4 separate regions of the Homo sapiens genome follow, and all the other regions are linked to region 1. The links are contacts of gene promoters, found by promoter capture Hi-C in blood cells and fetal thymus (Javierre and others, 2016). All regions are on one chromosome and are shown on one strand. Each heading gives the region's core, a stretch centred on a gene start or on the middle of the fragment in contact. The rest is flanking DNA. Distances are from core to core; before and after follow the strand shown.

Region 1 (6,290 bases), core at 2,302-4,801:
TGCTCTCAAGGGTCTGGGGTTGGGGGAGCCAGGGGAGAACCAGAACCAACGGTTCCTATCCAGTGCCTGGCCCCCTGCTTCCACCCCCGCCTCACTGTCTATCATTCCTTCCCAGAGACAAGCTCCCAGCTACTGAAAGCGAAGTGGGGTCCTTCAGGGAGAAGGAGCAAAGGGGAAGGGAGGGGGTTAAAGTTCAGCCCACCCTCCTCTGGCCTCACCATGAAACCTGCTAGAAGTATTTGTCCTTCATGATTAAGTTGAATAACATAAATTTGCTGATATGCAACTATGTTTCACCTACATAACCAGAAATTTTATATAGTTCAGTGGAAAACTTCACACGTAAACCCTGTGCGTGTTTGTGTTGGCCTGGAGCCCCAGGTTTCCTGAGCTCATTCAGACCCAGGAGAGCCAGGCTTGTGGAACATCAGGATCCCGGACTGTAAAGCTGAAAGGAGGGCCCTAAAGCTGGAGAAACAGTTGAGTTGACCTTAAGGACCTGGGACCACCGCCCCTCCCTGCATCAGGCCTCCATGTTCCTGCACAGGTGCTGCAGTAACCTCCAGGCTGGGCTTGGTTTGGGGTGCTCAGACAGGGGACGGCAAGGGAACACTGAGGAAGGCCTTCTTCTTGCCCAACTGTGCTCACCCTCCCGGCTATACAGGCAAGATTTTCTGGGACCTTCAGGAACCTCAGTCTTCTGGGGACATCTAGCATCCTCCCCTCGCCTCTGCTGCTGAACTCTGGTTGTGGGGCTGCTGTGCACAGGAAGCTTCAGGTGCCAATCCTGGGAAAACACTGGCTGTGCGTTGGGGCCAAGCTGATCAGAGGCAGCTCCACGGCCTTGAGAACACTTTAGCTGGCTCCAGTGCCTCGCCAAACCTTGGGCACAGCTGCCAGGGCAGGCCTGGTGCGACAGGCATCTAAAACTTGCCCAAGGAGTGAGGGCAAGGTGGCCTGGGAGGTTTTAAGCTGCAGAGTAAGGGAAGGCTTGTGAGTCACAGTTCACAGGACTCACTAAGGATGAGAAAGTTTCCCTTCTGTGATTCACTCGCCTGCCTTGCAAAATCACCTGACCAACAGATAGATCTTGATGTCTTGGAACCTGGTGGTTCAGGTTAGAAACCTGGACTCTTTCCTCCTAGGAGGATGCAAGCAAGAGAGGGAGGGGCTCAGCTCAGACCATTGTAATCATCCATCCACCCACCCACCCACTCACTCATTTATTCATTCATTAAATAAATGGTTATTGAGCATTTATATGTGCCAGGCACTGTGCTAGTTGCTTGGCATACAGCAGTGGACAAAATAGACAAAAATCTCTGCCTTCCTGGTGAGGCAGCCTCTTGAGTCAAGCCATTAATAACTAACTATGCTGTTGCCCAGCTAACATTTCTATTAAATAACTGTTACCTCTCCTACCGTGGGATAAAGAGATAACATGTTTTTTTAACTTCAATAAGGGGAAATGCTCAGGATATGCAGCCATCCTTCTGTATCCCTGGGGGATTTGTTCTAGGACTCCCCTCCCACACCAAAATCTTGAGCATATCAAGGATGTTCAAGTCCCTTTTACAAAATGGCATAGTATTTGCATATAACTTATGCAAATCCTCCTGTACGGTACTTCAAATCATCCCTAGATTATTTATAATACCTAAAGCAATGTAAATGCTATGTAAATTGTTGCTATACTTTGCTGTTTTTATCTGTATTATTTTAAATTTTTATATATTTTTTGAATATTTTTAATCTGTAGTTGGTCATATCTGTGGATCCAAAACCCTCAGATATGGAGGGCCAACTTTTTTTTTTTTTTTTTGAGATGGAGTCTCACTCTCTTGTCCAGGATGGAGTGCAGTGGCATGATCTCAGTTCACTGCAACCTCTGCCCCCCGGGTTCAAGCAGTTCTCCTTCAGCACCCCAAATAACTGGGATTACAGGTGCCTGCCACCACGCCTGGCTAATTTTTTTTTTTTTGTATTTTTAGTAGAGACGGGTTTCATCATGACGGCCAGGCTGGTCTTGAACTCCTGATCTCAAGTGATCCACCCACCTCGGCCTCCCAAAGTGCTGGGATTATGGGATTATGGGCGTGAGCCACAGCCCCAGCCATCAACTATAATCTTAAATTTTAAAAGCCCAATACAAGAGATATCTATATCTATATCTATCTATCTATCTATCTATCTATCTATCTATCTATCTATCTATAATATGTTAACATATTTGTGCACAGAAAAAGGGTAGAGAGGAAGGAGCCCCTAAATATCAGCAGGGGTGTAAATCACTAGGGGTATATGACATACATGTGCATAGAAAAAGGACAAGGAATAACCCCTAAATATCAGTAGGGGAGATTGTATTTTCTAGGAGGGCCACAAGATCCCCTGTCCCCTGTGCTCTTCATACAGTATGACCATGATGGAGAGGTGTGATCTAAGTTCCCTCTCCATGCATTTGTGACTATGGAGGCAATACAACTTCTGCCTGGTCCTCCTGGGATGCTCACGTTGGAAACTCAGACACTGGTGTGAGAAAGCACATGGAAACGCCACACATGGGTGAACTGGCGCTAACCCTGCTGACCTCAACTGACAACCAGCATCAATCACCAGACACATGAGTGAGGAAGCTCCTCTGTGACCTCTGACTGAGACCCTGTGAGAGACCCCAAGCATGAACAGCCTAGCTTAGCCTAGCCAACGACCAGGATCAGAAATTAAAAATGAATGTTGTTGTTTAAAACAACAGAGTTTGAGGGTGATTTGTTATATAGCAATAGCTATCCAGGAAAAAAGTATTTAACTTCTGTATGGTGAGATCATGGATATTAATAATACTTTTCCATATTTTCCAATATTTCTATAATGACCATTTATTTCTCTTATAATCAGTAACAAAAGAAGGGAAAACTTGGTCTAAACACGAATTTAGGGACTTAAACTAGACTTGGAGAAAAGCTTTCTATGCAAGATTTATTAGATACTGGAAAGGATGAGGAAGACAAATTTAAGTCAATATGATGGAAAGAGTGGTGGATTTGGAATGAGGAAACTTAGAAATGAATCTGTTTTCTGGGTGACCTTGCGCAAGCCTTTGCTAAAATTTGGTTTTCTATTTTGAAAAACGCAGCTGGCTGTTTAAGGAAGATAATATCCACCAGGGCGCCTGGCCCAGAAAAGGCGCTCTGTAAGTGGTAGGTGGATCCTGTCTAATCAACGCCAATTATAACCAGGCATCTGCAAGCTTTGTGGAGGGCGCATCTTTCACTGCTACCAGAGCCTACAGTTCTAATAATGAAAATTGCCTGGAAAAGAACCACAACTCTTAAAAAAAAAAAAAAAGTCCAAAATCACAAAGTGGCTTTTGCAGCGGTCCTTGCCTGTGACGCCGGGCCATGGCTGGAGCTCCTTGCTCCGTACCTCTCAGGAGCCTCCATCCTGTACCAATGGCCAGAGAGCCGGGGGGTGACAGACAGGGGGGCCGGCAGCCGAGCCAGGCAGGACGCTGCGCGCCGCGTTACTGGAGCCGGTGTCCCGGCAACCCCGGAACGCGCCTCTGTGGGAGAAGCAGGCGGCTGCGGTGTCCCTTTTGCCCTAGGCTCTCGGTTCTCAGGCCTCGGCGTGCGGCGTGCGTTCGGCAGTTCAGTTGCCAGTTGGTTCGTTGGTCCGTGGAGGCCTCTGAGCACAGACCCGGGCCTCCCCTGGGGAAGGGGGTGGGAAGACCCCGAGGTGGAAAAGAAGGAGCACCTTGAGCTGGATGGGGGCTGCAGCGAGCCTGGTTCGGGCTGGGGGCGGACTCGCTGGGGCTCCCAGGGCTTCCAAACCACGAAACGCCCAGGTGGAGGGAGTAAGGCTCCCGTTTAGAGGCCAGTCCTGCCCTCCTGACTTTCGGTGGCTTGTGGAATTTGTTTGTTTTGACTGATACCTTTCTTACGAGGGACTTTCTTTGTCTCTGGGTTGCTTCTAATATTTAAAATCATCATGGGCACAGATGAGTCCATCCATGCTCACTGGAAACAGTCCACGGGGCTGCCGTCTCCCCTCCATCTCAAGCACGACCTGCGGCAGACAGCTGGAGAAGGTTCCAGAAAAAAGGGACTCTGGCATGACCGAGGTGGAGAGGACCTACAGTTGAGTTCTAAGAAATCCAGGCTGTGGAGTTGGTGGCCACATCCAAGTATACTACACCCGGGGGCGGGGGCAGGTGGGGGGCACCATTTGAAGTTTAGAAGGAAGCTAGTTTGGGGGCATGTAAAAAGAGCTGCTTGAATAGTAGCTTATGTTTGTGCTAACCCAAGATTTGATTAGGCAGAGAGCACCACCAAAGCAGAGAGTCTCATAAATTACCTCACTGGATCTCACAGCAGTGGAGAAGTATATTACCTATGAGTAAAGGGAGCCAGAGATTTGACCTGCCCAGTGCTTGGGTTAATAAAAGGTGAGCCTGGGATTTGACATGAGCCTGGGATTTGACATGAGTCTGCCATACTTTCGAGCCTGTGTCCTTTCATCTTTCCTTTGCTCAGATATTAGTAGGTTTGTGTCATTGTTTATTGGATGGGACAGTTCAGGTGAGAATTATGAACACTCTAAAAATTAAATAATGGCTGGTAGCTCCATAATTGGTTAAGGCCGAGGAGGGTATTTGGGGGCACGTTTGCCTTTGGAGAACAGTGTCATGGCGCTGAACAGCCACAGTCTCCCAGAAAAGCTCAGAGTGCGCCTGCGCTCAAGTTCTCATTTACCTGTTATGGGTGAGTGGCCTGAGTGCTGCAAAAAGGGGTTGTGAAATATCCAGACTTTGCGGGATCAGATCTTAGCTTTCTCCCTGGTCTTCTGTATTCTGGGTGTGTGATCTCCTCATTCTCCTTCACAGTGGGGAGAAAGGAGGGAGGTACAACTCATTCCACCCAGCTATTAATATAAGCTAGGACCGTAGAGAAGGAGGAGCTGGAGGAGTTAGAGCTATTAATTGTCCAAGTGTGTCTGCAACAGCAAGGAGAAAAGGGTTCTGGGATTCTAACTTTAAGCTCCAGACCTTCCTGCAGTTTCCAGTTTGGGGTAAAGGAAGAAGCTGCTGTTTTAAGGATGTCCTAGGGAGGATCCATGTTTTCGAGTTAGGGGTAGCAGAAGGGTACCAGGTCCCAGACCACATTAATGAAAGACCCATGGTGTCCTTTCCTGCTGTGTAGGTGAGTCTATTCAGGAGAATACATCTGAGTTTAGCTTAACATGGAGTCTATGGATTTCAGCAAGGAAGGGGCTCCACAAACCAATTGAAGATACGTGTGTGTGTGTGTGTGTGTGTGTGTGTGTGTGCATTTTTCCATCAGAGAACCGATTGCTTTCATTACTGCTCATGGGGGAGAGGATAGAATCAAAAAACGGGTTAAAAACTTCTGTCCTTGATCCTTAGGCCCCTTGTGAAGCAGATAAGCAGGGGTGGGAAATAGTGTTTGGTTAAATGAGTATCCATGTTAAACAAACATGGCTTGATGTATTATTTTTCTCCCTGCCAGACAGAGCTATTATGACAATCAGCTGAGATGACAAACATATGAAAGTGCTTTGGTTATGTAAGGTGTTATTCCTGCCTAAAAAAATGGAAATAATTATCCTGAATTCCACAGATGGCAATAAAGAAACAGACTTTCTTCCAAATTCTCTTTTTTCCCTTGAATTCCTTTCTGGTTACCAGAACCTTCTCTTGGCCTTTAATTACATCATTTCTTCTTAATTTTGCAGTGTTTTAGAAACTTGTTAGAATTTTCTGACTTCTGGCTTACTTGACATTTATTGCGCTTGAATAACAATTTTCATGATAAATGGTGAAACTTTCAAGCAGGGTGTATCTCCTTAGTGTGTTTGTCTCCCCACAGCCTTCTGAGCTAGATGGGGGAGAGGGCAGCCACTGGGAGCTGGGCGTGGAGAAGTAATTGACTTGCTCAGAGTAGCTGGATGGTACTCTATGCAGTGGGAGCATCAGTATTAGTATTAGCGTCAGTATTAGTAAGTGTTCAGGCTTGCAATTCCAGCTTCTCTTCCAGCTAATCTTCTTTTACCAGGGGAGGGGCGGGGAGGCATCTTGAGAACATGTTTAAGTGTCTCCAGCTCAAGTTTGAGGTTGAGTTACTCTCAGGAAGATGCCGTAGTCAGCTTGATCTAGAGAGTGTGCTGTTTGCCAGTTTAGCAAGAGATTGCTCTTCCCATCCTTGTCCATCAGACAAGCTTTCCCCATTATAGTGGCCACAGGCCACTTTCTAGAGTGCTGCTGCCACAAAACT
Region 2 (6,290 bases), core at 2,788-5,287, 610 kb before region 1:
GAAAGATCAGTGTCCCTTCTCAGCCTCCATGTACTCATCTAAGAGGTGGGGGCAGTGATACTCCCTGCTGAGAGTGGTGGAAAGATAGTGTGCTCCTGTGAACAGGAGTCCTGAACTCTTGAACTCTAGGGTCTAGGAAAGAACTCCATGAAAGGGGAGTTGCCCCTTCATTCTGCTCCATGTGGATTGAGTGTTAGGGCACCCGCCCTCCTCCCAACTCCCCAGCATTTCTATCACCAGACAGGGTGGCAGGCACTTTGGAGAGCCAGGGTCCTGGGAGGAGGTGGCCCATGAAAGCAGGCCCTATTCTGCCTGCCTGTGGCCACCTGTGTACCCTCTCTCCCCTCTTGTCCGCAGGGAGGTGGGGCACATGCATTTCTTCTGCCCCTCTCCACTTGCTCCAGCACTTCAGAAAGGCAACATCCTTGGGGGTGGCCAGTGGGTTCCAGGGATGCAGGGTTAGGTGACGCAGGGAGGGCATCTATGCCCAGTGTCCTGACTCTCTTCCCTGGCTGGGCTGTACCTGGCACGTTGGGGCTCCTCTCCAGTGCTCCCAGGATGCCCTGGATCTACATTGCCTTATTCTGCACTAACCACCTAATGTTTTGATGATCTGCTTATGCATCTACCTAAAAATAACAAATGATGCACTTTGGGAGGCCAAGGCGGGAGGATTGCTTGAGTCCAGGAGTTTGAGACCAGCCTGGGCAACATAATGAAACCCCTATCTCTACAAAAAGTAAACAAATTAGCCAGGTGTGGTGGTGCACACCTGTAGTCCCAGCTACTCAGAAGGCTGAGGTGGGAGGATTGCTTGAGCCCAGGCAGTCAAGCCTGCAGTGAGCCACGATCATGCCACTGCACTCCAGCCTGGGTGACAGAGTGAGACTCCTCCATTCCACCCTCCCCTTCCCTGGGAAAAATAAATAATTGATGACACTTACATAGTGCTCACTATGTTCCAGGCTTTACATATACTAACTCGTTTGCTTCCCATGGTGGAGATGGATATGATTGTTCTCCTTGAGGAAACTGAAGCCCAGAGAAGGCAAGTAAGTGCCCTGCTCAAATTTAATTCACTTGTGTTGTCTAACCTCAGTCACTGTCCTATCACCCTGTTTTATTTTCTTCGGAGCCTTGCTTGGAAAAACAGTGGTCTACTGGTTTGCTTACTTGCCCATTGTCTGTCTCACAGACAGCACGAGACATCGCCTCATAGATAGCAAGCTCCTTGAGTGCAGGGCCTTCATCTTTCTTGTTCACATTCCCAAAGCTTAACTGATGCTTTAGAGAAGCTCAGTGAATATTTGTGGAAAGAATGAGCCACTGGCCCACTGAATGGAGACTCCTCGAGGGTGCACTCTGTGATTATTCATTTCTGTTACCCCCACACTTCCTAGCACAGGGCCTGGCACAGATACAGTGCTCAGTAAACTGTTTGTTGAGTGAATAAATGAATGAATGAATGAATGGAAAAAAATTCCAGAGGACTCAGTTGCTGTTGCTCTTCCTTCCAGACTCTGGGAACTAGTGGAAAGTCTTCAGCCACAGGAGATGTGGGAGAATATTCTTTCTGGATCTCTGTTTTGGTTTCTCTGTGTGATTTGGTGTGTGCGCAGAGTGGGTACACAGGGCGGAAAGCATGAGAAGAAGATTGGAAATGAAATAATCTCTGGGAAATGACTCCCTGAATAATTATTTCATGTCCAAAGGCAAGAGAGGATAGAAACAGAATATGTAGGTGTGGGCCCAGAGGAGGCCCCTAGTAAATGTTTGATGAATGAATGAGTGAGTGAGGCCTTTGAAGAAAGGCCCAGGCCATGATTTTCTTTGTAGTCCCAGACCCTAGGATGGGCTCAGACTAGAATATGATACGTTTGCTGAATGAATGAATGAATGAATAAATGAATGCACACATGAGCACAAAGGAGCATGGAAATGATTGGAAAGGGTGAGTGCTGCAAAGGACCTCAGAGTGCTGGTGAACCAGACCAGGGACAAAGATTCCAGCCTTGGTCCTTTCTCCATGAGTCAGGGTCTGAAAGTAAGGAAGGGGTCTGGTGAACGCTTAAAGCCTGGTTTCCCAGTCATTCTTTCCAGATGATCTGTGTGGGGTATTGTGCAAAGACGAATAATAATTGGAAAAATAATAAGAGCCCTGCCAGGTACAGTGGCTTACACCTGTAATCCCAGCACTTTGGGAGGCTGAGGCAGGTGGATTGCTTGAGCCCAGGAGTTTAAGATAAGACCAGCCTGGGCAATATGGTGAAATCCTGTCTCTACAAAAGATAGAAAAATTAGCCAGATGTGGTGGCGCGTGCCTGTAGTCCCAGCTACTCAGGAAGCTGAGCCTGGGGAGGTTGAGGCTACAGTAAGCCATGATCATGCCACTGCACTCCAGCCTGGGTGATGGAGTGAGACCTTGTTTCAAAACAAACAAACAAATGAACAAACAAACAATAAGAGCTCATATATATTGAGCACATACTATGTGCCAGGTTCTGCTCCAAGCTCTTTACTTGTTTTCAGTCATATCATCCTTTCAGCAACCACATGAAGTATTTTTCTCATTTTATAAAAGAGGAAACTGAGGCACAGAGACGGGCAATGTCCGTCCACGATCACATAGCTAGCCAGTGAACACACAGTCATCACTCGGGCTTGCTGGGGACAGCAGCGGCTGCCCACCTGTGTACCTAGGGGAAGGTCCTTTGTGCTTGGGTCTTGCTCTGGTTCTATCACCTCTCCAGGCCTCAGACCTTCATTTGCAGAATAGGAACATAACATTTTGATGTTCTGGGACATGGAAGTCAGAGGACTTTGTAAGCTATAAAGGGCTACCGGGATCTTTTAATGGAAATTTCCTCCTCCTCATCATGAATCACCATCATCTTCATCATGATCATCTCTAGACCTGGCCTCCTGCCATTAATATGCCAGGCTGGGCTGCAACCCTGGAAATCCTGGTAAGACAGACAAACTTACTTCCCACTCAGGGATAATTATTATCTAATTTGGCTTCCACTTATCTCTTATTTCCATTCTTCTTTTCTACCTTCTAAGCCTTGACTCACCTCCAGCCCCAGCTTCTCCTTCCTCAATCATCGGCCTCCCAGACTCTGGGCTTCTCTCCACCCCTATTAACTAATTTGCTGAATATGTAAATCAAAACTTGTTACTCTCCTGCCCTTGTGCCAAGAACCAACTCTAAACTCTTTTTATGAGATGAAAGGCATTGGTAATGTGGCCCGTGGAAACAACTCTTTTTCAGTCACCCCCAATGCCCTCCAGCCATGCCACATGGTTGGCAATTCCTGTAATAGGGTATTATTTTCATTCCTCTTTGCTCTTACCTGTGCTGTTCCCTCTGCCTAGCAGGTTCTTTCCAACTTTGTCTCCGTAGTAAATGTCCACGTATTCATTTTACCCTTCAGAACAAAAATGGCATTATTGTTTTTCCCAGTTATAAGAGTGAAGAGCGCTCATTGTATATAATTCAAACACTGTAGAAAAAACTAGAAAAAAAAGGAAATGTTTCTTCTTCCCATAGTTTCAACAACTGGAGATAACCACCGCTAAAATACGGTGGTTAAAATCATGAATGTTTTTCTATGCATTTATACACATATATCTTTAAATATGTATAAATACATACATATTTGCAAACATGAGATAATTCACCCTATATGGTAACCTACTTTTTGTCCTGAGTAAAATATTTTGGGTATCTTTTCCTGTGAATAATTAGTTTTACATAATAATTTTTTGTTCTTCAAAACTGAATTCCAATTCAAATGTTTATTCTCCTGGAAGGCTCTCCTGGTTTCCTACTTCCCTCCCAGTCCCCACCCACAGTGCCCCACCTCCGAGGACTCATCGTACCTTGTACCTCTTTCTTTGAAATCTTTGCCAATTATAAGGTCGTTAACTGATTTAAAAGGCAAATGTGTAAAACAATAATTATAAATCTACGTTAATGCGCACACAAGGTATAAAGATGTAATCTGTAACAATAATAATATAAAGGGGGAAGAATGGATAGGCAAAGGAGCAGAGGCCGGGCATGGTAGCTCATGCCTGTAATCTCAGCACTTTGGAGGCTGAGGCATGAGGATCAGTTGAGGCCAGGAGTTTGAGACCAGCCTGGATAACATAGTGAGACCCCATTCAACAACAACAACAACAACAACAACAAATTTAAAATTAGCCAGGCATGGTGGTGCATGCCTGTAGTCTTAAGTACTTGGGAGGCTGAGGCGGGAGAATCTCTTGAGCCTAGGAGGTTGAGGCCTCAGTGAGCTGTGATTGTGCCACCACTCCAGCCTGGGTGACAGAGTGAGACCCTATCTTTAAAAAAAATAAATAAGGAGGCTAGGTATGGTGGCTTACGCCTGTAATCCCAGCACTTTGGGAGGCCAAGGTGGGTGGATCACTTGAGGTCAGGAGTTTGAGACCAGCCTGGCCAACATGGTGAAACCCCATCTCTACTAAAAATACAAAAATTTGAGCATAGTGGTGAGTGCCTGTAATCCCAGCTACTAGGGAGGCTGAGGCAGGAGAATTGCTTGAACTTGGAAGGCAGAGGTTGCATTGAGCTGAGATTGTGCCACTGCACTCCAGCCTGGGTGACAGAGCGAGACTTCATGTCAAATAAATAAATAAATAAGTAATAAAAAATTGTAAAAAAGGAGCAGAACATTTGTATACTATTGAAACTAAGTTGGTATTATTAAAACTAAGTTGTTATAAGGTTAAGATGTTAATTGTAATCACAAGGTAACTAAGACAATGACTAAAAAATATGCAAAAAAGGAAACAGAAGTGAATCAAAATGGTACACTAGAAAAAAATCAACTAAATACATAAAAGGTAGTAATGGAGGAATTGGGGAACAAAAACACACAAGCATACAGAAAAACAAATAACTAAATGGGAGAAGTAAATCATTCTTTATCAGTAATTACATTAAATATAAATGAGTAAAATTCTCTTATTAAAAGGCAGAGATTGGCAGACTGAATAAAAAATGATATACTGTCTACAAGAGACTCATTTTAGATATAAGAGCATAAAGTGATTGAAAGTAAAAGGATGGAAAAAGATATCCAATGCAAATAAATAGTAATCAAAAAAGAGCTGGGATAGCTATATTATTGCTACACAAAATAGATATTAAGTCAAAAAAGTTCACCTAGCAGATATAACAATTATAAACATATACATACCTAAAAACATATACATACCTAAACCCAAACTATATGAAGCAAAAATGGACATAATTAAAGGGAGAAATAGACAGTTCTAAAATAATACTTGGAGACTTCAACACCTCACTTTCAATAATGGATAGAACAATCAGACAGAAAATCAATAAAGAAATAGACAACTGAACAATGTCATGAGTCAGTTATATCTAACAGAAATATATAGAACACTTCAATCAACAACAGCAGAATAAGCATTCTTCTCAAGTATGCGTGGAACCTTCTCCAGGATGGACCACATGTTAGGTCACAAGACAAATCTTATTAAGTTTAAAAAGATTGAAATAATATATGTTCAATTACAGAGGGATACAACTAGAAATCAACAACAGAAGGAAGACAATAATTTTAGAACTATGTAGAATTTAAACAACACACTCTTAAACAACTAGTGGGTCCAAGAAGAAATCACAAGGAAAATGAGAAAACACTTTGAGAAAAATGAAACGAAAACACAACACACCCAAACTAATGGAGTATATCAAAAGTAGTACTCAGAGAGAAGTTTATGGCTGTTAATGCCTACATTAAAAAGAAGAAAAATCTCAAATCAAGAACTTAACTGTACACCTTAGGGAACTAGAAAAAGAAAAGCAAACTAACCCTAAAACTAGCAGAAGGAAGGAAATAATAAAAATTAGAATAGAGATAAACAAAATAGATAATAGAAAAACAATAGAAAAAAATAAACAAAGCTAAACATTGGTTCTTTGAAAAGGTCAACAAAATTGACAAACCTTTAGCTAGATTGACTAAGAAAAAGAGAGAAGACTCAAGCTACTAAAATCAGACATGAAAGTGGAGACATTACTACTGATCTTATAGACATAGAAAGGATTATAAGATAATACTATGAACAATTACACACCAACCAATTAGATGACTTAGATGAAATGGACAAATTCCTGGAAACACAAACTATCAAAACCAACTTAAAAGGAAATAGAAAACTTGAATAGAGATATAACAAGTGAAGAGATTGAATCAGCAATCAAAAACCTCCCAACAAATAAGAGTCCAGGACTA
Region 3 (6,290 bases), core at 2,526-5,025, 580 kb before region 1:
ATTATCAATTCCATGTAATCATACTGAAAGAACAGATCAGGTATGCTCTGAAATTGAGTCAGTCTGGTTTACTGTGCCATTTCCATCCCCTAGCACAGGGCCTGGTATATAAGGAAGTATCAATAGATATTTACTAAATTTATGGATAAACAAACAAATAAGCTGCTTTCGTAGCCTTTATCATGTTAAAAATATTCCACAATGATGTCAAGACTTCATCCTGGCCAGGTGTGGTGGCTCACACCTGTAATCCTAGCACTTTGGGAGGCCGAAGCAGGCAGATCACTTGAGGTCAGGAGTTTGAAACCAGCCTGGCCAACGTGGTGGACACCTGTAATCCCAGCTACTTGGGAGGCTGAGACAGGAGAATCGCTTGAACCCGGGAGGCAGAGGTTGCAGTGAGCCGAGATTGCGCCATTGCACTCCAGCCTGGGCAAAAGAGTGAGACTCCTTCTAAAAAAAAAACAAAAAAACAAAAAACAAACAAACAAAAAACTTAATCCTTGGGAACTAAATGTAAGTGGAAATAACCAAAAGTTGTTTAGTGCCCAGGTGTGTGACCCAGGAGACTGAGCAAACTGAGTAGGTAATAGCAGCACCTTTTTTTTTTTGGTCCAAAACAAGGTGTGGCACCAAATTAAGAAATTGATTTCCTTGTTTGGTGTATAATGAAGTCTAAGATCAATTCATAAGGGGAAGTAAAGTCCAAAAATGCTATGAGCAAATTTGGTTTTGTTGGCCTAGGTGTGTAGGGTCCACTTTTTGAATGTATAGGATTTTGCAGGTGAATTAGAAGCAAATGATATGTGATTAGAGGCAAACCATTTACATTGCAGAGTTTTGCCTTTCCTTTCAGAAAAAATAAAGTTGAGCCAGATGAGCTCTCACTGCCTTCTTAGTCATGGAGTTTGATGATTCTAAGTCTTGAGGGGCTGGGGTGTGACTGGAGGGACGAGAGAGTAGTGAGTGAGGGCTGATTTTCAGGGACATGGATCCTAGGAGACAGGTAGGAAAGCGTGCTGGGAGAAGCAGTTTTCCCACAGCTAGAGAGGGTCAGGCCTCTGGGCATCTTTACCAGGCTTGAAATGACAGCACCTAAAGCCCCAAATATTTCCTCTGCTCTCCCTCCATGCCAGTCGCTGTGTTTTCTACACATTGCCTGGTTGGATCCTTGCCACGGCCCTGTAGAGTTGGTGGTCTTATGATCCTCATTTCCCAGGTAAGGACACTGAGTCACAGAGAGGGGAATGTAATGTAGAGATTCCAAGGCAGTTTAATGCCACAGCAGCAAAAGGAAGATGGCAAAGGAGAACGGAGGCCTGAAGGGGATACATTTCCCCTTGACAACATTTTATTGTAACAGTTGGGGATTGATGGGAGTATGTGTGAAAATGAGTCAGTGAGTGGTTTTCTGGTAGTTACTCCATGTAATATGGCTGACTGGCCAATGTTGTCCATTTAGTTATCAAAAAGTTGCCAAATTGTTAATAAACAAATGGAGAGCAAATAAAAGTTTCTCCTACAGAAGTTAAAATAGAGCTAGGGTCGACAGGAACATTCTGGGAATTGAACAAAGTAAGTGATTTTTCTGACTCACTCTGGGATGAATATTTTTTCAACCCCATTTGTTGAAAAAATGGTCTAAAACCCTATTGAGTAAGGCAGGACCCTCTGGGTGCCTCTGAGACCATCTGGGTGTAATGACCAGGTGGGGGCTCTGGTCTCAATATGAACAGCAGAACATTCTGAACTTGAACCCCAACAGATTCTGATTTGAAACCTTGAAAGCATTTGACTGAAGTTCTGATATCTGCTTGCTTTTTGGTTCTTTCTTTCTTTGAGTACAGAAAGGAAATTTTGGTTTGTTGATTGTTCATTCTTGTATTCAAGCCATAGTGGTTAAGAGTGCTGGTTTTGGAGCCAGAGAGAGTTGAGTTTAAATCCCAGCGCTATTGCTTATTTGCTGTATGACTGTGAGCAAGTTACCTAAACTCTCCTGGCCTTTGTTTTATAATTGTAATCTACTTCACAGGGCTATTGTTGGGATTAATGAGATAACATAAGGCACACAGTAGGGATATGATCCCAGACAGTATTTACCTTTATTATTTTCTTTTTTTTTTTTGAGACCAATTGTCACCCCGTTGCCCAGGCTGGAGTGCAGTGGCACGATTTTGGCTCACTGCAACCTCCGTCTCCCAGCTTCAAGTGATTCTTCTGCCTCAGCCTCTCGAGTAGCTGGGACTACAGGCACCTGCCACTACACCTGGCTAATTTTTGTATTTTTTAATTAGAGACAGGGTTTCACCATGTTGGCCAGGCTGGCAAACTCCTGACCTCAGGTGATCCACCTGCCTCGGCCTCCCAAAGTGCTGGGACTACAGGCGTGAACCCCTGCGCCCGGTCACCATTATTATTTTCATTCATAAAGAGTTTACAAGTAAACTGGGCATGGTGGCTCACACCTGTAATCCCGGCACTTTGGGAGGCCAACACAGGCAGATTGCTTGAGCCCCGGGGTTGGAGACCAACCTGGGCAAAATGGCTAAACCTTGTCTCTGCAAAACAAACAAACAAAATCACAAAAATTCGCCAGGCATAGAGGCACATGCCTGTGGTCCCAGCTACCCAGGCAGCTGAGGTGCCCAGGAGGTCGAAGCTGCAGTAAGCTGAGATCATGCCACTGCGCTCCAGCCTGGTAAACAGGGCAAGACCCTGTCTCAAAAAACAAAAATAAAAACAAAAACAAAAAAAAAGAAAAGAAGTCTACATGTGGATGTCTATACCTGCAGGCCTGTATTAGTCCTTAGGCTTGTATGGGGTAAGAGATCACTGAAAAATACACTCTCTCTGTGAATGCACTTGGAGAAAGATAACACACACACACACACACACACACACACACACCCCTTTACAAAATTAAATACATCAGACAGCATTTGAGGCTGGATGAAGAGGTATAGACAGCTCATGCTGTAGGAGTTTAGGGGAGACTGCTGAGCAGAAGTGGTCTAAGAAGGCTTCATGTTTTAAGAGGCAAATCTTCACGGCTGGCACTGTATAGACCAGGATGAAGAAATGAGCAACCTGTGCTTGGGGCTGTCAGAAGACCTGGCTGGCTGGAGTGGGATGGATGTGTAAGGGGGCAGGGGAAAGAAGGGGCCACACACAATCATATTATGAATAATAATGGGAATAGAAACTACCATTTGTTTGGTTCCTGCTATGCACAGGCCAGGTGCTCTTGCTACACCCTTTCCATATATTATCTCATTCAATCCTCACAAGAACCCTGTATAGGTATTATTAGCATGGGTTTTCAAGGAAACTCAGGTTTAGAGAGGTTGCATGACTTGCCCAGGGACAGATAGCTAGAAGTGGGGAGATCCACAATCTGAATGAACAAATTACACGCACAGACACTGTCACAGACAGGCACACACACACAGAGCCCAGGCGCGGCCAAGACAGTTGTCTGTTTCACCTCATCTGTGGCCCCACTCTCCTTTAGTTGAGTTAGGTGCTAGTTCTTTCCTTTGAGGGGTCCAGTGTGAAAAAGTGACCCTACTCCTCACCCCAACTCTGTCTTAAATGTCCCTGCAGCTTTAGTCCCCAGGCAGGCTCCCAAGAGGGCGGGGCCTGGTGCAGTGTTTAAGGAGGTACTCACTCTTAGGGCCTGCGCTGCACCTGCACGACCCTTATAAGAGTGAGCAGCTCCTTACTCCTTACATTTGGTCCTCGCCTAGCTGCCTCGCTTGCCTCTCCCTAGTTCTGACCCTGGATGGGGCGAGGGTAGTGGTGCTTTGCAATGTGAGCCAAGAAGTCTCTTTCTCTTCCAAGGTCAGGCAGAGATTCCTGAGGCTGAAGCCATTGCTCTCCTTTCTGTACTCAAATGAACAGTGTATTTCAGCATATTATCTGAATATTACTCAGATAATATTTCCACCACTCAAACCTACCCTTCTTCAGGGTCCTCCACAGTCCAGCCTACCTTTCTGTCCCTGAATCCTCCAAGCAGTCCCCGTCCCAGCCCTGGCTCATACCTCATACTTCTCTGCTCCTAGAGGGTGAGTCTGGATAGACAGCCTCCGGCGTGGTGCCCCCTCCTCAGGGACCAGGGGCCTGTGCAGAAAGCCTCCTGGGCATGCCCCAGAGGCTGGGAAGTCCAGCACTGCTCTCCCTCGCCCTCTAGAGGCTCGGGGTGGCACTAGGTGAGGTACCTGGGAGGGGTCCTGACTGAGGAGGGGGCCCTGGGCTTCCAGAGAATGTCTGGAGTGTGGCCACGGTTGGGCAACAGCTACATCTGAAGCCCACTGATGGAAGGTGCCCAGCAAGGTTGTTCTGTCGTCTCAGGCAGAAGGGGGTTCAAGGCCGCCCACCTCTGTCTGGGTGTTGCGGGTCTTCCCTCCTGTGGGCCAGAGAAGGGGCTCCCTAACCCGCACCCAGCCAGGCCAGTGGGACAGCCCCTCTCCAACTCCTACCTCCCTCTTGGGCAGCTTCGAGGAGCCTGGAGGCTGCCCCTGCCAGCCCTGGGGGACTGTGGCCCCGTTCTAGAGAGCCAGACATCCCTGAGGACCTTTAGGACAGGAGGGGAGGAAGTGTGAGGAGCTGTGTCCCAAGGTGGCTGTGATCGGGGTTGATGTAGGCAGAACCTGGGAGACGGTGGAAGAAATCTTCAACTCCTGGTAGGGAAGGACACATAGAAAAAGGTGAGGATGGTGGTGTGGAGACAGCCTGGGGGAGAGGCCAGAGTGGACAGAGGCTGTGGAATCACTTAACAAACCTTTCTGGGCGGGGAGACTCGGTGCTGGGGTGTGGGCCTCCAGAGGGGAGTAAGCAGGGCAGACCCACCCTTCCTCATAATACATATGCATAAGCTCATTTGCATAACAACACACCTGCTCACCTGGCCCCCATCGAAGTAACTGGCCTTGCCTCAAATGGTCCATTATTTTTGACTAAAGTATGGGGAAAGGGGACCCATTCTCTTGCTCATCCTTTTCCTTATCTCCCAGATTCCTGGGTTTGGAAGAGAAGGAGGAGTAACTGTGGAATGAGTCACAGAATTATTCCACCTGCCCCAGGGCCAGGCCACGAGTAGAGCGAGGATAGATGTCTCCCTAGAGCCTTACCTGCTGCCCCTGGGGAGGTCTGGGGCTTCCACCCAGAGGAAGAGCAGGGGTGGTCTGGGCAGCCCAGGAGTCTGGGGGAAGGAAGCAAGCACCCTTACTCCTCATGATCTCTGTCCTGTTACCCTCCCCAGTGCCTGGGGCCAGGGCTAGGTGTGTGTTATCTCACCTCAAACAGTGGCTCTGGGCTCCCCTGCCCAAGCTAATGTCATAGTGGAGGCCTCAGGCCCTGCACCAACATGGTTCCGTAGTCCCTGGAGTCAGGCTGGGGGAGCCCAGGGCTGAGGCTCCCTTTCATCCCCTCCCACCAGGAAAGGGTCTTTCTCGGTATTTCCCACAAACACTCATATCACCACTTGACAGCCTTTTCATTCCATTCTCCCGCCTCTCTCAGCCCCACCACACCCCTGACACATTCCTTCCCCCACTTCAGCTCCTGGATCGCAGGCAGGGGCACCCTGCCTATCCCCTCTCCCAAAGCGGGTGCCTGGGAGCTGACATCTTGGCTCACCTTCTCCTCCTTTGTCTTCTCTTCCTTTCCCCCACTCCCCAGCATTTCATCCAAGCCAGAAATGGGCCTAGAAGTCTGTAGAAAGACATCCCGCTGCTATCACTCCACAAATCCTCTAGAGAAGATGAGTTTGGTAGACCTCTGCTTATCTGATTTAAATTCTTCTTGCTGTAATCTCAGCTGTTCTGGTTGGTGGCAATGGGCAAACTCAGGATGTTGGTCAGACAATGGACTGAAGAGTTTACTTTTCTCTGCTTCCCTGCCCAACTGTACTTGAGTAATCTTTATAGTATCTCTAAAAGATGGTCCTGGAATGGTGCTCCCTGGTCCTTCCCTGTCTCTTGCAGTCGGCCAGGACACAGGCGGGAGTATCCACAGCTCTCATTTTACAGCTTCCTTCCCGTTCCCTACAGCAATAGAGGGGGAGCCCTAACGGGGTTTTAGCAATCAGTCCAGCCCCTTCAGTCTGGAAAGGAGGACACTGAGGCAGGGATGGGCGGTGCCTTGCTCCAGGCCACACAACAAGGCAGTGACAGTGGCTGCGTTTGAACCCAGGTGTCCTAACCTCCAGGACCCACACATGGCAATCTGAGGAACTGCTCGGGGAGCAGAGTGCTTAATGACAGGGCTTCAGGGACACTATTTGTCAG
Region 4 (6,290 bases), core at 3,791-6,290, 570 kb before region 1:
TCTGCCCAGTGCTAGGAGGAATTTCCTGACGCCCCTTCTCTTCACCCATTTCCTTTTTAGCCTGGAGAGAAGCCCCTGTCACCCCGCTTATTTTCATTTCTCTCTGCGGAGAAGATCCATCTAACCCCTTTCTGGCCCCAGAGTCCAGGGAAAGGATGATCACTGTCAGAAGTCGTGGCGCGGGAGCCCACTGGGCGCTTTGTCACATTCCACCGAAAGTCCCGACTTGGTGACAGTGTGCTTCCCTTCCCTCGCCAACAGTTCCGAGTGAGCTGTGCTTTAGCTCTCGTGGGGGTGGGTCAAGGGAGGATTTGAAGAGTCATTGCCCCACTTTACCCTTTTGGAGAAATGGCTTGAAATTTGCTGTGACACGGGCAGCATGGGAATAGTCCTTCCTGAACCCTGGAAAGGAGCTCCTGCCAGCCTTGCACACACTTTGTCCTGGTGAAAGGCAGCCCTGGAGCAGGTGTTTTTTTGGAACTCCAAACCTGCCCACCCAACTTGCTTCTGAAAGGGACTCTAAAGGGTCCCTTTCCGCTCCTCTCTGACGCCTTCCCTCAGCCAGAATTCCCTTGGAGAGGAGGCAAGAGGAAAGCCATGGACAGGGGTCGCTGCTAACACCGCAAGTTCCTCAGACCCTGGCACAAAGGCCTTGGCTACAGGCCTCCAAGTAGGGAGGAGGGGGAGGAGTGGCTGCCTGGCCACAGTGTGACCTTCAGAGGCCCCCAGAGAAGGACACCTGGCCCCTGCCTGCCTAGAACCGCCCCTCCTGTGCTCCCTGGCCTTGGAAGGGGTATGAAATTTCCGTCCCCTTTCCTCCTTGGGGCCCAGGAGGAGTGGAGGGTCCCGGGAGAATATTGTCAGGGGGAAGGCAGGGGGTGTCATGGGAATGGGTGAGGGGGCTGAGGTGCAGAATCCAGGGGGTCCCTGCAGGAGCCGCAGTGGTAAGCTGTCCAGCTGGAAGCCTGGTAACTGTTGTTTTCTCTTGAGAGGGGCTTCCTGTGACCTTGGCTGTCTCTGGGAGCAGGGCTGGGGTACCTGAGTGGGGTGCATTTGGGGTGTGTGGGAAGGAGAGGGAAAGAAAGATGGACAGTGGGACTCTCCCCTAGCAGGGTCTGGTGTTCCGTAGGCTAGAGTGCCCCTCTGCTCTGCGAGTGCTGGGCGGGAGGGGAGTTGGTGAGAGCTGGAGACCCCCAGGAAGGGCTGGCAGAAGCCTTTCCTTTTGGGTGCTGTCAGGTCCGCATGTCTTGGCGTGTTGACCTTCACAGCTTCTGGCGAGGGGAGGAATGATCTGATGCGGGTGGGGAGGGTTAGAGGAGGCCTCAGGCCTAAGGTGGTGCAGGGGGCCCCCTAGGGGCTGGGCAGTGCCAAGGCATAAAAGCCTTCCCTGGTCCCTGGTGGCATTTGAAGGTGCCCAGGTGAGAGGGGCTTGGCACCTCCTCACCCTGGGAGGGAGAAGAAACCAGGGAACAGGTAGGAGTGGGAGACAGGTGAGGCTTTGGAAATCTATTGAGGCTCTGGAGAGATTTGTGTAGAGAGGAAAATGTGGTTCTCCCCCAGGGTCTCCTCCTGGGTTTTTACCCTCTAAGCAACCTGTGGGCATGCTGGGTTATTCCTAAGGACTAGAAGAGCTTGGATGGGGGAGGGTGGTTGGTGCCCTTCGGTCCTCGGCACCCCCCTCCGTCTCCAACACCAGCTCACCCTGGTATTTGTCATGTCAGCAGGAGAAGGTCACCATGTTGTTTTTCTCGCCCCTAGTCCTTCCTTCCTGCCCCAGTCCAAATTTGTCCTCCTATTTGACCTTAATACTTACCATGGCTTTGGACCAGGGAACTAGGGGGATAGTGAGAGCAGGGAGAGGGAAGTGTGGGGAAGGTACAGGGGACCTCGACAGTGAAGCATTCTGGGGTTTTCCTCCTGCATTTCGAGCTCCCCAGCCCCCAACATCTGGTTAGTCTTTAACTTCCTCGGGTTCATAACCATAGCAGTCCAGGAGTGGTGGGCATATTCTGTGCCCGTGGGGACCCCCGGTTGTGTCCTGTTCGACTCAGAAGACTTGGAGAAGCCAGAGGCTGTTGGTGGGAGGGAAGTGAGGAGGGAGGAGGGGCTGGGTGGCTGGGCCTGTGCACCCCAGCCCCTGCCCATGCCCATGCCTTGCTCTCTTTCTGTCCTCAGTGGTCCCAGGCTGCACCCATGGCAGAAGGAGGAGGGCAGAATCATCACGAAGGTGAGTCCCCCTGGCTGTTGGATGGGGTTCCCTGTCCTCTCAGGGGATGGGTGGATGGCCTAATTCCTTTTTCTTCAGAACTGTGGGGAGGAAGGGGAAGGGGCACAGGAATATAAGGATCAAGAAAGAAAGAGCTGGGCACCACGAGGTTCACCCTCAGTTTCGTGAGGACTCTCCGCTGTTCAGGTCTCTGCTAGAAGTAGGACTTGTTGCCTTTTTCTTCTGCTCTTTCCAGTAAAATTTTATTTGGAGAAGGAGTCGTGCGCACAGAGCAGGAAGACAGTGTTCAGGGATCCTAGGTGTTGGGGGAAGTGTCCCTTGTTTCCCCTAGCTCCCAGGGGAGAGTGGACATTTAGTGTCATTTCCTATATAGACATGTCCCATTTGTGGGAACTGTGACCCTTCCTGTGTGAGCTGGAGGCACAGAGGGCTCAGCCTAATGGGATCTCTCCTCCCTTCCCTGGTTTGCATTCCTTTGGGGGTGGAGAAAACCCCATTTGACTATGTTCGGGTGCTGTGAACTTCCCTCCCAGGCCAGCAGAGGGCTGGCTGTAGCTCCCAGGCGCCCCGCCCCCCTGCCCAACCCCGAGTCCGCCTGCCTTTTGTTCCGTTGTGGTTTGGATCCTCCCATTTCTCTGGGGACACCCTGGCTCTCCCCACCACTGACTGTGGCCTGTGCTCTCCACCTCTGGGGAGGGAAGGCCCTGGGGTCTTCCTTCCCGCGAGTTTCCCTGACCTAAATCTGGCGTGGCTGGGTAGTGGCCAGCAGTGGTGATGCCCAGCCTGTTCTGCCTCCTCCTTCCCCACCCCAGGAGCCCTTTCCTTGGCCTAGGACCTGGCTTCTCAGCCACTGACCGGCCCCCTGCTTCCAGTGCGCCACTTACCCCTTCCAGCTTCCCAGTGGTCTCTGGTCTGGGAGAGGCAGGACAAAGGTCTTTGTTTGCTGGAGAAAAGGTTGTCTGCGATAAATAAGGAAAACCACGAAAGCCTGGTTGTTGGAGTGTACGTGTGTGCTCCCCCAGGCAGTGGAGGCCAGCCCTCCTTGGAGGGGCGGCTGCCTGATGAAGGATGCGGGTGAGGTTCCCCGCCTCCACCTCCCATGGGACTTGGGGATTCATTCCAAGGGGAAGCTTTTTGGGGGAATTCCTACCCCAGGTCTTTTTACCCTCAGTTACCAACCCCTTGCCCAGGCCAGACCTTCCTGCTATCCCCTCCTGGGCCACAAGCCTGGCCCTCCTCTGTCCCAATTGTGATGAAGGGGCAGTTCAAAACTTCTTGATTAGTCATCTTCTCCCCTATCGACTTGGCTTTAAAAAATGACCTTTTCAGACTTCTAGTCTCGTTCACTCTTTTTGATGATGCTTTGCCGTAACCCTTCGTGGGTAGAGAAGGATTCTGTGCCCATTGGTGGTCTGGATAAAAGAAATAGAGACCTCACAGGAAGCAGTGGACTGGCCTGTTTCCCCACTGTTCTTTCTGTTTTCACACCTGTGGCCTTCTCCCCACCTTCTTCCCAATCAACCTATTGTGTACATAGCCCCCCTCATTGTCCTTTATTCTTCTGGAAAGCAGACCTTGGAGGGAGGAGTGAGGGGGAGGCTCAGCTGTGGTCTCTGGGGGGTGGGGGTTGGGAGCTGGGGTGGAAGTCCACGAAGCATACACTTAAGATGCTTTGGTGAAGTTCTAAACTTCATATTACCCAGGCTGAAAAAAGAGCACTTGTTCCTAGGGCTGGAAATGGAAGCCAAAACACCACCTTTTTCAGCCTGTTTCAGCATCTTTAGAGATCAGCCCAACCCACTTACACAGTTGAGCAGAGTTGGAGGCCTAGAGAGGGGAGGGACTGGCCCAAGGTCATACCAACTCATGGCCAGAGCCTGGGCCTCCTCACTGGCCAGGTGTTATTTCTTCCCTCTGGGTAGGGAACCTATTTCAGGGACAGGATTGCTATGTGGTAGTGGTGGTGGGGTGCGATAGGCGTGGCAGGCTGGGCCACAATTTGGAGTAGTCATGCCAGAGTCCTGCATTTATTTATTCTCAAGGGCCCCGCCTCTGTGGCCCAGAATTACCCCTTCATGCTCCAGTGCACCCCAGGCTTCGTGGCCAGCCTGGGAAACTGTCTCTACCCTGGTCTCCCTTCAGATCAGCTTCTAGAAATGTTTCGTGGCTACAGTGGCAGCACTGTTTTTTCCATGATGCAAGCAGTTTGCCCTCTTGGGCGGGGTTATCAGTGGCTGGCAGGGCTGGCACAGCGTGTCCGCCCACTGCCACCTGTGGGTTCCAGGAGGGCCCAGCCCCTGTGCTGATGCCCACCACCTTCTCAGCTCATGTCTGGGGAAGAGGACTGGCAGGGGGAAAGGTGCCTCCTCCTGAAAGGTGCCTCCTCTGTTTTTGCCTAATATAGGCTTGGGAACACTTTGATGTCAGCTAATTCTGACTCCTTTACTTACTAGCTGTGCGGCCTTGGGGCAACTTACTTAGCCTCTTTGAGCCTCCTGTTCCCCATCTGTAAAATGGAATCTCAATAGTGTCTAATAGTACCATGTGGAGAAACTTGTGTGAAATGATAGCTGTGGACTACTGTACACAGTACTCAGGATGTAGTAAGTGCTCAATAAACAGCTGTTGGTATGGTTGACGTTATGGTAGTGGTTGTGGGGAGGACGTAGGAAACTGGAGACTAGCTTGGCAAAGCTGGCTCTTCCTCCTTTTAGGGAAAGCTTAGAGCATCCCCATGGGGTATACCCATACTCAGACTGTCCTCTGGCATCGAGGTTGGCCCAGGATTCAGTTCAGCTGTCACAGTGAGGTGGCGGGATCAGATGTGGCAGGCCATGTCCCTTGGAACTTGAGTACATCGTGTGATCTCTGGAATGAAAACAGGCCTTCACCAGTGTTGATGGTGGAAAGCTTAGGGAAGTGCTTCAAACACAGTAGGAGGGACTTACGTTAGATTTTGGAAGGACTTGCCTGATTCGGAAGCTCCAAAGAGTGGCATTACAGAGCTGGGTGGAGAGAGGGGCTAGCCATCTTTTGTGTCGCCCACCGGGCTCATGTGTCATCGCCTCTCATGCAGTGGTGAAGTTCATGGATGTCTATCAGCGCAGCTACTGCCATCCAATCGAGACCCTGGTGGACATCTTCCAGGAGTACCCTGATGAGATCGAGTACATCTTCAAGCCATCCTGTGTGCCCCTGATGCGATGCGGGGGCTGCTGCAATGACGAGGGCCTGGAGTGTGTGCCCACTGAGGAGTCCAACATCACCATGCAGGTGGGCATCTTTGGGAAGTGGGGCAAGGGGGGGATAGGGAGGGGGGTAACACTTTGGGAACAGGTGGTCCCAGGTCGTTTCCTGGCTAGATTTGCCTTGTCTGGCTCCTGCCCCTGAGTTGCACAGGGGAGGTATGGTGGGGTCTTGCCTTCTGTGGAGAAGATGCTTCATTCCCAGCCCAGGTTCCCAGCAAGCCCCAACCATCTCCTTCTCCCTGATGGTTGCCCATGGGCTCAGGAGGGGACAGATGGATGCCTGTGTCAGGAGCCCCTCTCTCCCTCTCTTGGAGAGAGTCCTGAGTGCCCCCCCTTCTTGGGGGCTTTGTTTGGGAAGCTGGATGAGCCTGGTCCATGGAGAGTTTAAAAAGTCTTTTGGTGTTACCTGGTAATGGGGCACATCTCAGCCCAGATAGGGTGGGAGGGAGCTGTGAAACACAGGGAGGGGGTTGCTTTCGGGTATCTACTAGGAGTCAGGGTGAAGCCTAGAGAGGATGAAAGAAGGGGAGGGGATGGGGAGTGGTAAGAACCTAGGATTTGAATTCCCAGCCTGGCCAACCCTTGCAGCCATGTCTTGGCCTCAAGTGGAACAAGGGCTCCTTGAGGCCAGCAGGGTTGGGGGAGTTGGGGTGGGCCTGAGCCTCTTTCCTGCTAGAGCTCTTGGTCCTCCCTGCCTCCACCACCCATCCCTGCTCTGCAGAACCCCTGGGTGCTGAGTGGCAGGAGCCCCAGGGTTGTCCCATCTGGGTATGGCTGGCTGGGTCACTAACCTCTGTGATCTGCTTCCTTCCTTT

What was found. Contacts are between HindIII fragments. The CHiCAGO score rates a contact against its expected background, and 5 or more counts as called.
Region 2: a fragment that was not itself captured here is called in contact with the fragment with the promoter of SPATS1 in region 1 in 1 of 17 cell types (non-activated CD4 T cells); the score reaches 6.0 in non-activated CD4 T cells.
Region 3: a contact is called between a fragment that was not itself captured here and the fragment with the promoter of SPATS1 in region 1, in 2 of 17 cell types (fetal thymus and neutrophils). The highest score is 5.3, in fetal thymus.
Region 4: a fragment that was not itself captured here is called in contact with the fragment with the promoter of SPATS1 in region 1 in 1 of 17 cell types (naive B cells); the score reaches 7.3 in naive B cells.

Annotation. Positions count from the first base shown.
Region 1 is chr6:44,339,099-44,345,388 of GRCh38, forward strand. SPATS1 (spermatogenesis associated serine rich 1) reads left to right here and starts at 3,552. Exons shown (of 9, transcript NM_001372081.1): 1 at 3,552-3,670; 2 at 3,998-4,136. The coding sequence starts at 3,998. The HindIII fragment of the contact is 2,984 bases long and covers 3,249-6,232 here.
Region 2 is chr6:43,725,865-43,732,154 of GRCh38, forward strand. No RefSeq gene overlaps it. Among named protein-coding and RNA genes, the nearest start is that of VEGFA, 41 kb to the right of the region's middle. The HindIII fragment of the contact is 5,532 bases long and covers 1,272-6,290 here.
Region 3 is chr6:43,754,500-43,760,789 of GRCh38, forward strand. No RefSeq gene overlaps it. Among named protein-coding and RNA genes, the nearest start is that of VEGFA, 13 kb to the right of the region's middle. RefSeq lists enhancers at 3,894-4,430, 4,046-4,105, 5,786-6,286, 6,287-6,290. The HindIII fragment of the contact is 9,019 bases long and covers 1-6,290 here.
Region 4 is chr6:43,772,166-43,778,455 of GRCh38, forward strand. VEGFA (vascular endothelial growth factor A) reads left to right here. Exons shown (of 8, transcript NM_003376.6): 2 at 2,176-2,227; 3 at 5,304-5,500. Among named protein-coding and RNA genes, the nearest start is that of VEGFA, 5.1 kb to the left of the region's middle. RefSeq lists enhancers at 1-2, 3-768, 769-1,534, 2,587-2,881 and a silencer at 1-15. The HindIII fragment of the contact is 190 bases long and covers 4,946-5,135 here.